Linked DNA regions of Homo sapiens: region 1 is linked to region 2. The links are contacts of gene promoters, found by promoter capture Hi-C in blood cells and fetal thymus (Javierre and others, 2016). All regions are on one chromosome and are shown on one strand. The core of a region is centred on a gene start or on the middle of the fragment in contact, and the rest is flanking DNA. Distances in the headings are between cores, read along the strand shown.

Region 1 (7,769 bases), core at 2-2,501, 98 kb after region 2:
CTTTACATATAACTAATTTAATTATCCTAAAACTGTGAGACAAGTACTGTTGTTATAAGCTTCATTTTCTGATGCAGAAACCGGGGCACAAGAACTTGCCTATAATCAGTCACACAGCTAAGAGGTGTTTTCTTCTGTAAAGCAGAATTCAGTATGTTACACGAATCCAGCCTTTTAGTGGTTGAAAACAAAGCAAAACAGCCGGGCGCGGTGGCTCACACCTGTAATCCCAGCACTTTGGGAGGCCGAGGTGGGCGGATTGGGCGGATCACGAGGTCAGGAGTTCGAGACCAGCCTGACCTACATAGTGAAACTCTTTCTCTACTAAAAATACAAAAAATTAGCCGGCCGTGGTGGCGGGCGCCTGTAGTCCCAGCTACTCGGGAGGCTGAGGCAGGAGAATGGCGTGAACCCGGGAGGCAGAGCTTGCAGTGAGCCGAGATCACGCCACTGCACTCCAGCTGGGCAACAGAGTGAGACTCTGTCTCAAAAAGCAAAAAAGAAAACGAAGCAAAACAAAAAGCAATACCAGCCGGGCGTGGTGGTGCACGCCTGTAATCCCAGCTATCCGGGAGGTTGAGGCAGGAGGATCGCTTGGGCCCTGGAAGTCGAGGCTTCAGTGAGCCATGATCGCGCCACTGCACTCCAGCCCTGGGCGACAGAGCGAGACCTTGTCTCCAAAAACAAACAAAACCACGCCCACACACTAACAACAACAACAAAACCAAAAAAAAACCCAAACAATACCAAGTGTGTACCATGACGAGAAAAGGAATAGGTTGTTTGTAAAATAAATGTTAAAGATAAGTAACTATTACCCATTTCTCCAACCAGTATACTTGACTTTGAGTGTTTGTTCCAGAGTTGAGGGGATGGAGAGGGATGTGTATGTGTGTAGATGCCCTCCATGCGCTGTGTTGAAAACGCGCGGGTGACTGCAGGAAACCACAGAGCACAGCTCGGGCCTCTACTGATCGGGAAACGTCGGAAGACAGAAAAATGGGCAATCATAAAACCCACGGCAACCATGAAGACACGCACTCTCCCCCTAGCAATCCCACCCCGGAATTGAGGACACAGGGTCCCCGCGCTCAGCCCTTGGTGCCAGCACTTCTTGGACACCTCAACCCCCTCAGCTAAACCTGAGATCCAAGCGCTCCGGATTCCAAACGTTTCCTCGAGCAGGTCCTCTCTAGCCGGCCGCTTATCTATGGTTTCTGCTATAGGGCGCTCTAGCCTGCGCCAAGGGGTAGTGAGACCGCGCGGCAACAGCTTGCGGCTGCGGGGAGCTCCCGTGGGCGCTCCGCTGGCTGTGCAGGCGGCCATGGATTCCTTGCGGAAAATGCTGATCTCAGTCGCAATGCTGGGCGCAGGGGCTGGCGTGGGCTACGCGCTCCTCGTTATCGTGACCCCGGGAGAGCGGCGGAAGCAGGAAATGCTAAAGGTAGAAGCAACTGGTAGTCCCGAGGAAGGGTGGGCGGGTGGAGAGCCCCGGACTGGAGCTCCTGCGAACTCCCCTTCCTGCCCTCAGGAGATGCCACTGCAGGACCCAAGGAGCAGGGAGGAGGCGGCCAGGACCCAGCAGCTATTGCTGGCCACTCTGCAGGAGGCAGCGACCACGCAGGAGAACGTGGCCTGGAGGAAGAACTGGATGGTTGGCGGCGAAGGCGGCGCCGGCGGGAGGTCACCGTGAGACCGGACTTGCCTCCGTGGGCGCCGGACCTTGGCTTGGGCGCAGGAATCCGAGGCAGCCTTTCTCCTTCGTGGGCCCAGCGGAGAGTCCGGACCGAGATACCATGCCAGGACTCTCCGGGGTCCTGTGAGCTGCCGTCGGGTGAGCACGTTTCCCCCAAACCCTGGACTGACTGCTTTAAGGTCCGCAAGGCGGGCCAGGGCCGAGACGCGAGTCGGATGTGGTGAACTGAAAGAACCAATAAAATCATGTTCCTCCACCCAGAATGAGCCCTGCAGTCGACACCTACCAATGCTTAGAGACGCGTGGTCGGTGCTGGGGGCGCGGCCTGGAGCTGCTGCCTGTCCCACCCCACCAGAAGAGGCTGATCCCGATAGGTATCTGACCACATTTTTTTTTTTTTTTTTTTTTTGAGACGGAGTCAATGTCACCCAGGCTGGAGTGCAGTGGCACGATCTCGGCTCACTGCAACCTCCGCCCCTGGGTTCCAGCAATTCTCCTGCCTCAGCTTCCCGAGTAGCCGGGATCACAAGTGCGCGCCACCAAGCCCAGCTAACTTTTGTGTTTTTAGTTGAGACAGGGTTCACCATGTTGGCTAGACTGGTCTCGAACTCCAGACCCAGGTGATCCGCCCGCCTCGGCCTCCCAAAGGGCTGGGATTACAGGCGTGAACCACCTCGCCCTGCCGCGGCCACATTTTTTCTTTTTTTTGAGATGGAGTCTTGCTCTTGTCACCCAGGCAGGAGTGCAGTGGCGCAATCTTGGCTCACTGCAACCTCTGCCTCCTGGGTTCAAGCTGTTCTCCTTACTCAGCCTCCCATGTAGCTGGGATTACAGGCGTCCGCAACCACGCCCGGCTGATATTAGTAGTTTTAGTAGAGGCGGGTTTCACCATGTGGCCAGGCTGATCTCGAACTCCTGACCTCAGGCAGTTCACCCGTCTCAGCCTCCCAAAGTGCTGGGATTAGAGGCGTGAGCCACTGCGCCCGGCCAACCACATTTTCAAAACAGGTCATGTGGTGTCAGGTTGGAGTGTACTTCCAGGGATAACCGTGGGACATTCTTGAAATCTGAACTATCCTGGGAAGTCTTGAAGTAATGGATGCCTATAGTGGACACTCAGGACTCCTGTCCTTGGAGCGAGATTGGAGGGGCATCTAGCACTTAACATATGCCACAATGCTTTCTGTGGCCATTATTTAACCTCTGGTTAAACAAGCTTAGGAGGCTGACTTACTAGTAGTAAAAGGAGTGTGCTTTGAGTCACAGATCCTGGTTGAACTCCAGCATGTTACAAACCTCAGCCCTGTTCTATGAAAGGTCATAACTACGAGGATTATTGTAAAACATTAATTTAGAAATGTAAAGTGGTCCCCAATCTCTGGATCTGGTCAGGATTTATTGGAGCTGCCACTGAGGGGATTAAATAAGTGGGGTCAAAGCCCCACAGCCTAGTCAACCAAGTTGCTCCTCTTTTGTCTATCCTGTGGTTCCCAAGCAAGACTGCAATTGAAAAAAAGGCTGCTGTTATTAAAGTCAGAACACCAAATAAAGCTTTTTTTTTTTTTTTGAGACAGAATTTCTGTGTTGTTGCCCACGCTGGAGTGCAATGGAGCGATCTCAACTCAATGCAACCTCCGCCTCCTGGGTTCAAGCGATTCTCCTGCCTCAGCCTCTCCAGTAGCTGGGACTACAGGGGTGCGCCACTATGCCAGGATAATCTTTGTATTTTTAGTAGATACAGGGTTTCACCATGTTGGCCAGGCTGGTCTTGAACTCCTGACCTCAGGTGATCTGCCCGCCTCAACCTCCCAAAGTGCTGGGATTACAAGCATGACCCGCCGTGCCTGGCCCAAATAAAGCTTTCTAACACTGGGGTGTAAACCCAGATATAAGTATTGGTGCTCTTTTCAGCTGCTGGAACACATGTTACATGTGATCTTTACAGAGTAACTGTGGCCTTTCTCCTAGTCCAGGAAGGAGTGGAGTCAGGAGCAGTTTGACAGGACAGCAGGGTGGGGTGATCAGCAGCCAGAGGGACTATCATAGATAAGCTCATCAGTGCTTCTTGGTTGGTTTTAAAAAGCAGAGAGAAGCGCCAACATGGTGAGACCCTGTATCTACTAAAAATACAAAAATTAGCTGGGCATGGCGGCACGTGCCTGTGGTCCCAGCTACTCGGGAGGCTGAGGCAGGAGAATCGCTTGAACTCAGGAGGCAGAGGTTACGGTGAGCCGAGATCGTGCCACTGCACTCCAGCCTGGGTAACAGAGTGAGGAGATGTCTCAAAAAAAAAAAACAAAAAAACAAAACCCTTTTAGCCCAGCATTTTGGGAGGCTGAGACAGGTGGATCTTGAGGTCAGGAGTTCAAGACCAGCCTGGCCAACATGGTGAAACCCCATCTCTACTAAAAAATACAAAGAATTAGCTGGGTGTGGTGGCACACACCTGCAATCCCAGCTACTCGAGAGGCTGAGGCAGAATTGCTTGAACCCGGCAGACGTTGGTTATAATGAGCCGAGATTGCACCACTGTACTACAGCCTGGGATCTAGAGCAAGACTCCACCTCAAATAAGTAAATAAAATTATCCTTTTAGTAGCTAATGCTTACTGGGGACTTATTAGGTACCAGGCACTATGCTAAAGCATCTTATACCAGCATTATGTAACCCTCATGACAATCCCAAGAAATAGGCACTATTCCTATTCTATTAAGAAGCTAGGTTTTCTGGGTGAGATGTGAAATAACTTAAATGACATCACTAAGGTAGCAAAGCTGAAGGAAAAGTATAAGAAGGATGTTCCTGACTATAAGTAGAAAGGTTGGTTTGATGATGCAAAGGGTCCTGCTAAAGTTGCCTGGAAAAAGGTGGAAGAGGAAGATGAAGAGGAGGAGGATGAATAAAGAAACTGTTTATCTGGCCAGGCACAGTGGCTCAAGACTGTAATCCCAGCACTTTGGGAGGCAGAGGCGGGCGGATCATCTGAGGTCAGGAGTTCAAGACCAACCTGACCAACAAGGTGAAACCCTGTCTCTTAAAAAAAAAAAAAAAAAAAAATTAGCTGGGCGTGGTGGTGCATGCCTGTAACCCCACCTACTCAGGAGGCTAAGGCAGGAGAATCGCTTGAACCCGGGAGGTGGAGGTTGCAGTGAGCTGAGATCGCTCCATTGCACTCCAGCCTGGGCAACAAAAGCAAAACTCCATCTCAAAGGAAAAAAAAAAAGAAACTGTTTATCTGCCTCCTTGTGAGTACCTTAAGAGTAGGGGAGCCCCGTAATGGACACATCTCTTATTTGAGAAGTGCCTGTTGTCCTCATTAGGTTTAATTACAAAATTTGATCATGATATTGTATAGTCTCTCAAAGTACTCTAAAAATTGTCAGTGGTGGCCGGGCGTGGTGGCTCACGCCTGTAATCCTAGCACTTTGGGAGGCCGAGGCGGGTGGATCACTTGAGGTCAGGAGTTTGAAACCAGCTTGGCCATCATGGTGAAACGCTGACTCTACTAAAAATACAAAAAATTAGCTGGGCATGGTGGTGCGCGCCTGTAATCCCAGATACTTGGGAGGCTGAGGCAGAAGAATCCCGTGAACTCAGGAGGCGGAGGTTGCAGTGAGCCAATACTGTGCCACTGCACTCCAGCTTGGGTGACAGAGCAAGACTCCATTTCAAAAAAAAAAAAAAAAAAGAAATTCTCAGTGGTTTACATGAAGTGGCCATGGGTGTCTGGAGCACCCCAAAGCTGTATCAAAGTTGTGCATATTTCCAAACATTTTTAAAATGAAAAGGCACTCTCATGTTCTCAATAAATAAATAAATAAATAAATAAATAAAGCAGCAGGCCGGGCGTGGTGGCTCATGCCTGTAATCCCAGCACTTTGGGAGGCCAAGGCAGGCGAATCACAAGGTCAGGAGTTTGAGACCAGCCTAGCCAACATGGCAAAACCCCGTCTCTACTAAAAATGGAAAAAATTAGCTGGGCGTGGTGGTGGGTGCCTGTAATCCCAGCTACTAGGGAGGCTGAGGCAGGAGAATCGCTTGAACCTGGGAGGCAGAGGTTGCAGTGAGCTGAGATTGCGCCACTGCACTCTAGCCCAGGCAACAGTGCAAGACTCCGTCTCAAAAATAAAAATAAAAAAGCAGCAGCTGGGCTTTTATTTTCTGTCTTACCATAGGAGTAAAAGGTGCCATCCAATGTACTCTCCACCCCTTTTAGCACCTCTCCTCCGCAACTTCCCCAGCAGTTAATCAGACCCAGAGATTACAAACAAGTGTCTTTGTTGGAAACTAAAGATGAGGAAGAGGGTCTACTGTTCCGTTTTAGCCTCTTCCTCTGCCTTAGTTTTGTCCCTCCCAGCCATTCAGGAAGGAGTCAGGCATGTACAGAACTCAGGGTCTATTTATTAGGAAGGAGATGTCAGTGCTTTATCAAAGATGAAGGGGTCACAGAGGGACAATGGGACAAAGGCCCTCAGCTGGGACATTTCTTGGCCACAATGAGAACAGCAGAAGGCACGAGTCCTGAAGATGGAAGAAAACAGGCTTGAACCACAAGGATACTTGGTTTTTGCTCCCAAAATTCCTGGCCTTGCACCATGTTCACAAAGCCCCTTCTCTTTGCATCCCTCCTTTTCCTAGGCATGCCTCCCTACTCCCCCAGTTTCTAGTCCTGGTTTCTAGTCTTGCAGCCATACCCAGCTCCTGCAGAGGCCGCTCCATGTCAGCTTCTGAGAAGGCCCGTCTGGGGAAGCCACTGAGCAATTGCACAGGGTCCTGGCCCCCACCTAGTTCCTCCCCACGGTGGAGCTCCACATAGAGCCTCACAGCTGCCAGCTGTTCCCGGGCCCGGAACGTCTGGGTCAGTGAGGTCCCATCTGGCAGCCTGACCTAAAGGGCAAGGGAGATACTCAGTATTGTGGGCATCAAAACTGAATGAGGTGCCCAAGTAAGGAAAAGAGCTAAAGCTGGGCCCCCTTCTTCTTAGATTGAACCAGCACAACTACTATTTAAAGCACCAAATGAACAGCCACTTAGGCTCCGCTTTACTAAGTGCGGATGAGAGACTCCCAGCTCCCTCACAACCTAAGAAAGACAAGGATAAGATTATACAAAAGAATCTGGATAAATACCACATCACCAGATAGCTACATAATAAACCAAATAAAAACATGAACAAGTAAAAGGGTAACTGCTGAGTAAGAGAGAGGTATGGGTTTAAATACAACTGGGGCAGGTGAAATTTGATACCTTTCCCAAGAGTAGAGATAGGATTTCAAAAGTCATTTACAAAGAAGGGAGAGATTTGGCAAAGGGCACGTTAACTGAAAAAAGCTCTGAGCTGGGCACCTTAACACGGAACAAAGGGGTCCCAAGAGGAAGATAAGAATTAGAATCAGTACCTGTATGCGACACTGGTCATACTCCCGCTTGGTGGGAGGCTCCTGGCTGGGAGAAGAGGGAACAGGACCTGGCTCTGGTGCCACTGGGGGTGGCTGAGAGCCCACACTGCCACCATACTAAAGGGCAAAGTAAAACAGTCAATCAGGTACTCACCCATCCTCAGGTGAAACAGATCATATAAGCCCATGCTTTCCCTCTGAAGCTGGAAAAGATTTACTAACCTGCCCACTCCATTACCCGTGGCGTCTTCTCAGTCACCTACCTTCTTGGCTCTCTCTGCTTTGTCCCTCTCGATCTTTTCTCTAACTCTTTGTCTGAAATGTAGACAAGAAGAAATTAGGTCAGACATCAACAAAGCAAATCTTGATTTCTTTCTCATCTGCTATCCATCATTTCCCCTGCCCAGACCTGGCTGCTAACTCCTCGGCCTTTTCCCTCCGCCTCTCCTCAGCAGCCCGGCGCATCTCATCTTCCTGTAGCCGCTGTCGTGCTGCTGACAACTCTTGCCCTTGTCTCCTGCGCTGCCGTTCCCGTTCCAATGCCTCCCGTTCCTCTCTTTCTTCACGCTCCCGCTGCTTCTGGGCCACCAGCTCCAACATCCTGTGTTGCCGAGGGAAAACAGTTCAAGAGAAATGGACAGAGTGGGAAGGTGTAAAGTTTACAATAAACAAA
Region 2 (6,934 bases), core at 542-3,041:
AAGCCCAATAGATTTGAATATTACAGGATATTTGTATGAAATCTCTGGATCAAACAAGCAGAAGGCCAAAAGCAACTCCTGTATCAATGTCTGTATCAGTTAAAGTATTAGTGTGTGACCCAGACCCACACAGCACTTCATCTCCTCCATTCTTAGCATGTTTCTTCACCTATCTCTATAAACCCCTTGGGGTAAGAATTCTGCTCATAACAGATATCTGATATATTTGCACTGAAAATGCTTAGTCAAAACTCATTCTCTTTCCCACAAAGTAAACTCGTGAATTTTATAAAGTCACAGAATAGCTCTGTATTTTTTTTCACAACTACATGTAAATCTGTATTTATCTCAAAATAAAATCACCGAAATTGAATAAAACAACATGGGAAGCTCCCTTTTAGAGATGGGGGCCACCACCAGAGTGACAGAATCGCAGGGCCTTGGTTTCTCAGAACCGAAGGATGCTCCCCATCTCCCAACTCACCTTGCCGGCAGGAAATTTGCGGAGAAATTCAGGGGTGCGGTTGGTTTGGCCAAAATGGAAGTGGGGTGGTGCGGAGAGCACGCGGACCTGAGCCCCGCTGTACTGAGCAGCGATGAGAGCCTTGAAGGCCCTCCAGTTTTCAGGATACGTGTACAGGGTCTATGGGAGAAAGAGAGGGACAAAATTAATGAGTAGAAGGGTCCCAGTCCTTAATGCCACTCTCCAGGATGACTTTCCTGAATAATCCCAATGTATTCAACTCACCCTTTTACTTCCTCTGGTGAACCAAGTCCTTTAGTACTTGTCATATGTAATCAGAATCCTCCGAAATACCAAGAACAGAACTACACACCAACTGCTAAATAAAGCTTGTTGACAGATTTGACCTTCCCTAAGGACACCTCTGGAAGTATTCTCTTCCTCTCAAATCTATCTCCAAGAAATCCAGAACTTCTAGCTCCATCAGACTCCATCTGCCTACAAACATACTCTCCTCCCTTCCCGGAGCCCTCGCTTCATTCATTGATGGTTCCGAGCGCCTGCCTACTCTACTGCTCAGCTGCTCACCGCTTCAAAAGCATCGTCCTGTCTCTAAGGCACGCACGACGATCGAGAGATTTCTAGTTCCCCTCAGACTAGCCAGAGATAGGGGATGGCATGCCGTCTTCTTAAATCAACTCCTCTCTCTCAAAAAGCCTTTCTTTCCGTGTCGCGAATATCATCCCTCCGGTCCTGTCCCGCAGCGAGTTCCCCGGCGTTGGGCTTCTCTATTATGCCGGCCAGCGGAGTCCAATTGGTCTGACTTCACTGTCCGGAGAATCCTCTCGCTCCCAAACCTCCCTGAGAGACGACCTTTAACCGTGCCAGCCGGACCTGCCTACAAAGACCCTCCTCTTCAACCTGTCCCCTGTGTTACTCCACAAAACGGACACAGAAGTTCGTCAACCTGCCCAGATACCACGCCTCAAAGCGGCAACAGAGCCGAACCCCTTTCTCAGGCTTCGGACGGCCCAGACCCGGCATCTCTTTTCTCCTCTTCCCCAGACCCTTCCACCTCTGGCCTCCGAGAGCCCCAGCCTCAGTTCCCCTCCAGGCCCTAGGAACCCTACTCTCCAGCAGTACAGTCTGTAGACCCCCGAATCAGTTCCCCACTCAACCTCAGAACTCCTCTGGCGCCGACTGGCCCCACTCGGGCAAAGGATGGCGGTGGATAGGATGACCCGAACCACCAGAGCCAGCAAACTTACCCCAGCCGCCATGGTGATTCCGCAAAGAAAGGGGGTGGGGTTCTCGGCGCTGCCGCAAAGTAAGCCGCCCGGGAGAGAAGGGAGGGGGAAAGAGGAGAGCCGTGGAGAAACAGCAGCCGGAAAGCGAGGACGAAACAGAAGACATACGTACGACAGTTCGGTATCCAGTGGCGCTGAATTGGAAAAAGAACTGGGTGGGTGGGGCCTGCTGGCCAGCGCGGAAAAAGCTCGGGCCTGCGCATTGGAGCTCTTGACTGGCCCGCCCCCCAGGTGCAGCGGGCCAATCGGAGTCTAGACGTGGAGGTAGACAGCGTGGAGGGCGGGGAAGTTGTGAGAACCCGCTGGAAAAGCCGCGAGTTCTTGGCTACGTGGCGCGGTTGTTGGCCCGGCGCGGCCAGTGCTACTGGGGGCGTCCCTCTCTGGCCCTCCCAGGGACAAGTGACTTGATGGTAGATTTTGCCAAGCCCCTCACATGATTCTATGAAACTCATGGGAGCGAGGAACAGCTGCTGCGCGGAGGTGGCAGTGTGTGTGCTAAATCCCTTTAGTTCCTGCTCTGCTTTTCCTCCAGAAAGGGATGAGCGTCTAACAGGGGCCCCGGTCTGAACCCGCCTGCCAAAGTGAGGTTTGCTCACATCCAACCCCTGACAGCTCCAGGGTGCTGTTACTGCGAGCAGGGCACCGGCCCTCCGGCCCGAAGCAGGGCAGGGACATGAGGGAGAACGCGCCCTGTCCCTCCCACCTCCTCCGGACTCGGCCCCTGGAGGGGCTGACGCTGGAAGACCTGACATCGTCGCTTCTGATGTTCATGGCTTTTGACCCATGTTCAGGTTTGAAATCTCTTACCCAGTTTAAGAACGGGATGAACTCTCCTCGTTTAAAGGAGAGAATGAAGAACGCTGAACGCAAATCTCCGTCCTTGTGCGCATAAATCTGAGGCGACAGGAAGAATGTGGAGGCAAACCTGGCTCTTCTCAGTACTGCTGGAGCCACCCACCGCTCTGCCATTCAGGAACTCTGCGCGGGTGCCAGGTGCCACGCGCGGTGCTGCCCCCGCACTCCCCTCGAGCTGTGCGAACTGTAGGAAGGAGAAGCTGGTGGGGTGGAGAGCAACAGGGAGAGACCCATGTTCGGGGTCAGACGGGAGCAGCTGCAGGAAGTTCTGGGGGAGGGGAAGGGGGATTATGACCAGATGGAAATGAAAGGAAACGGGAGACTGTATTAATAAACTAGCAGCTTTATTGCCCTTCAGGGGCCATGTCTTCACTTGAGATGTCGAATTGCTTGAGGGAGGAAAACCTGTAAGAAATGATGGAGATCAGGGAACAGGCCTTGGGGATCCTGGAGCGGGGTCACAGTGAGCATTCGGTCAGCCGGGGAGACAGACGCCACAAAGCTCAGCAGGGGCTCAGTTTCTGGCCTCTCTTCGCCACCACTCAGTCCTTTCAGCTCCTGGGTGACCTGAGCCTCAGTCGCCAGCCACCCTGCTCTTGTGCCAGCGCCACCTCCAGCTCCCTCCTTGGTTTGCTGCTGCAAGCGTCTACGGGCTCGCCGCCGCCCTTGCCACACTCGGTGCCACAAGGCACAGCGCCAGCTCGCTGAGGAGGGCAGGGATGCCCCCTTCCCTGCCTCACCCTGAGACCATTCTTGGGCTGCCTCATGTCCCTTGGGCCCCCGCTCTGCCAGGGCTGCGTGGCTGGGCTGCCCCTCTTCTCCAGGGGCTCCATGCTTTCCAGTGGTCAGGGGCAGGTCCCCTGGCTGCCCAGGGCTCTGCATGGCCCAGTCCTGCACCATCTCTCCAACCTCTATAACCATCTCTTCTACCCTGTCTTCCCCACCGTCCCCTGCACATCCCTGCTGCTCCTCTTTCCCCTCCTCACAGCAGTTTTTCTGTCCATCTACTTTGAGTCTTTTGCTTGTCCCTCCCTGAGAGGACTCCCCAGTTCCACCTCCTTCTGACCGCGTTCTCTTGGTTGCCTGTTCTATATGGCACCCCAGTGCTTCCCTGAATACCTGCACCAGGGCAGCAGTGAGCTGGGTGAAGGGTGCAAGGGGTAAAGGGATCGGCGTAGCAGAGAGCAGGGAGCTGGGGGAGCTGGGCTGCAGAAGAGGGAGCAGCCCCCAGTCCCGACCCCGGGAGGAACGGCGCTGGTACTGGAGGCTTCGGCAGTAATTGGCTGCTGCTCGGCAGCAGTTCTGTAGGCGCCCAGCCACCCGGCTGGTCACATTGGCTGCGACATTGTGACTCAGGTCAAAAGGGTCCTGGAGATTCAGGGGGCCAAGGCGCAGACCCTCCCAGAGATTAGAAGGCAGGCCCCCTGCCACAGGCAGTGCCTGACCCTCCCGCAGGGACAGCAGGGAGCCACGAAGATCCCAACAAGATACACAGGAGAAGAACTGGGCTAGCAGGGAACCTGGAGGAGGAGGAAGAGTGGGGAAAGGGGGGTCACTTAGAGGCCAGAACTGATACAGGTCCTGCACCAGAGCCATTTCCTTAGCAGGACTTTTTCCCTTCCAAGGGGCTCAGCAGAGTCCCAGGAAGCTAGGCTTCTCTGATCCCTATAAACAAGAGGTCAAACCTCTCTCCCTGCCCCCACATGATGTCCTTGCCCAGATGCTGCTGCTCCTTGCTAGCCAGTGTAACCTTGGGCAAGTCACTTAATTGCTCCCAAACATGGTTTCTTCATCTGTAAAATGGCAGTAATAATATTAGGTATCTCACAGGCTTTCTGTGAGAACCATGCCTGGCACACAGTTAGTGTGATATATGTTACCTACTGTTGATGAACATCATTACTAGTCCTCTACCAGGCTCCCCAAACTCACTGAGGGGCTCCACATTTATGCTGGGCTCCAGTCTTGAGGCATCCCTGGGGAAACTGCAGTCCCAGCCATCGACTTCCACCTGTTCCCCCTCTCCTGTGAAAGTAAATAAGGTGAGAGTCAGTCTGGAAGCAAGGAGATTGAGGGTGGGGGTAGAGAGATCTCATTCACAGAGCTGCTTGGTGTATCTAAGTGTGATGAAGAAGAGAGAGGAAACTAACAAGATGGAGAGGGTGGAGGCTAGGCCGAGTACCTGCTTTCTGGGTGAGCTGGGACACAGTGGGCAACACAGGAGGGTCCCTGGTCTGAAGAAAATAGATCACCAGCAAGGTCAGGGCGTAGTTACTGAGAAGGGGGCCACTCCCTGGGTAAATAAGCAATAATTCCGGTTAGATCAGAGGTGCTTCTAATCCCCTCACTGGCAGTTTTCTCAACCCCGGTGCCCATTCTGACCTCCCTTCTCTCCCTGAATCCCTGCCTTTGTCCTGAGACCAACTCAGCCCCAAGTCTGTCCTGATCCATTCTCACCTGACAGCCCCCGACCCTGAGCCCAGCAGCGGAGGGTGTACACGAGGGGCCGGACTCGACCATCCAGCTCAGAGCAGAGACTCAGGAAACGGGAGTTATGCAGGGCCAGCCTGGGACAAAGCAGGGACAAGGGTGTTAGCGCTTGGGGATGTCAGAACCTACCACCCCCAGCTTTCATTCCAGACTTGCATAACTGGAGCCAGCTGGAATAAGGCCAGAACAGTTTCCCCAAATGTTGCTCACTGATCTTGTGAGACAGTGTGCGAAAGGACAAAGGAGTTCGGGAAACACTTCATCCTGTACGCCCATCCTGGACATTCACAGCACATTATTATAAGACTGTTCATGAGCCATGGTCACACCACTGCACTCCAGCCTGGGTGACAGAGCAACATCCCATGTCAGAAAAAAAAAAAAAAAGACTGCCCAGAGCCTTTACTATGCAAAGAAACAAAGACAGGAAAAGAGAGAGGAAGGAAGGAAAGGAGAGAGGGCAAGGGGCGAAGGGAGGAAATGGAGAAACCTTTTTGCATCTAACTTTGAATTTCCCAAATTTATTCAACGCAGAGCTCTTTTCTACATCCCTTGAAAGTAGTATTCTAGGGCGCGGTGCCTCACGCCTGTAATCCCAGCACTTTGGGAGGCCGAGGCGGGCAGATCACCTGAGGTCAGGAGTTCGAGATCAGCCTGGGCAACACAGCGAAATCCCATCTCTACTAAAAATACAAAATTAGCTGGGTGTGGTGGCACATGCCTGTAATCCCAGCTACTCGGGAGGCTGAGGCAGGAGAATCGCTTGAACCTGGGAGGCAGAGGATCCAGTGAGCTGAGATCGCACCATTGCACTCCAGCCTGGGCAACAAGAGTAAATCTCCGTCTCACAAAAAAAAAAAAAAAAAAAAAAAAGTAGTATTCTAAGGAACACACTTTACAAACACTGAAATGGAAGCCAGGCAGGAGGAGATAAGGGACAGAAAGAGGGATGGTCCCAAACAAGGACAAACTTGAGACTTGGCAGGTGCAGGAGTTTCCCAAGCCAGACTCTCCTGGCCCATCCCAGAATTCTCAGCTGGCCTGCCCCAAAGAAAGGTATGGTGCCTCACGCCTGTAGTCCCCGCACTTTGGGAGGCCGAGGCAGGTGATCACCTGAGGTCGGGAGTTCAAGACCAGCCTGACCAACATGGAGAAACCCCGTCTCTACTAAAAATACAAAATTAGCCAGGCGTGGTGGCGCATGCCTGTAATCCCAGCTACTTGGGAGGCTGAGGCAGGAGAATCACTTCAACCTGGGAGGCAGAGGTTGCAGAGAGCCAAGATGGCACCACTGTACTCCAGCCTGGGCAACGAGTGAAATGTCGTCTCAAAAAAAAGAAAGGTACCGGTTACTGAGGGAGACATCACCGTGGAGACCTGAAGGCCGATGACAGAACTTGACCACAGGGCGCCGGGCAGAGGGCACAGTTTGGACTCGATACACCCCAGGGACACAGCCCCGGAGAATGGATCCCACCAGCTCCAGCATTGCTGCCCCCTCTGCTTTCTCCTCCTTTGGGGTCTCTGCTAGTTCCGAGGCCTTCCCCAGGTCCCCCTCTTCCCTGTCCTCTAGCAGTGGTGAAGCTGGAGGCAGAGACTGGGGAGAAGCAAGGGTCTCGGAGGCCAAGGCAGAGTCCGGAGTTTGGGGCGCCAGGGAGGAGGAAGGGGTTTCAAAGTCCAGGGCTTCAGAATCCTGGGGAGAAGCAGGAGGTTGTGAATCTGGAGGGGAAGCTGGGGTGCAGGCCAGGGCTTGAGGGTCCAGTGGGGAAGCCAGGGCCGAGTCCAGCGATGGAGATTCTGGAGCCTTTGGGACTGGCTG

Evidence for each region. The method cuts DNA at HindIII sites, captures the fragments that hold promoters and counts their contacts. A CHiCAGO score of 5 or more calls a contact.
Region 1: a contact is called between the fragment with the promoter of UQCC3 here and the fragment with the promoter of EEF1G in region 2, in 11 of 17 cell types (total B cells, activated CD4 T cells, total CD8 T cells and 8 more). The highest score is 10.7, in total B cells.

Annotation. Positions count from the first base shown.
Region 1 is chr11:62,670,422-62,678,190 of GRCh38, forward strand. UQCC3 (ubiquinol-cytochrome c reductase complex assembly factor 3) reads left to right here and starts at 1,252. Exons shown (of 2, transcript NM_001085372.3): 1 at 1,252-1,444; 2 at 1,532-3,265. The coding sequence starts at 1,325. The coding sequence ends at 1,693. It overlaps LBHD1 (LBH domain containing 1), which reads right to left and starts at 1,846. Exons shown (of 7, transcript NM_024099.5): 1 at 1,143-1,846. It overlaps UBXN1 (UBX domain protein 1), which reads right to left. Exons shown (of 9, transcript NM_001286077.2): 5 at 7,506-7,697; 6 at 7,360-7,411; 7 at 7,097-7,213; 8 at 6,392-6,584; 9 at 6,079-6,218. The coding sequence ends at 6,169. RefSeq lists enhancers at 1-677, 678-1,417, 1,418-2,159, 1,526-1,685 and a silencer at 1,926-2,055. The HindIII fragment of the contact is 2,853 bases long and covers 58-2,910 here.
Region 2 is chr11:62,572,100-62,579,033 of GRCh38, forward strand. It overlaps EEF1G (eukaryotic translation elongation factor 1 gamma), which reads right to left and starts at 1,792. Exons shown (of 10, transcript NM_001404.5): 1 at 1,732-1,792; 2 at 485-643. The coding sequence starts at 1,743. TUT1 (terminal uridylyl transferase 1, U6 snRNA-specific) reads right to left here. Exons shown (of 9, transcript NM_022830.3): 5 at 6,462-6,931; 6 at 5,083-5,192; 7 at 4,808-4,918; 8 at 4,558-4,650; 9 at 2,953-4,145. The coding sequence ends at 2,995. RefSeq lists enhancers at 1,761-1,960, 1,916-2,877, 2,661-2,720, 2,878-3,839. The HindIII fragment of the contact is 8,528 bases long and covers 851-6,934 here.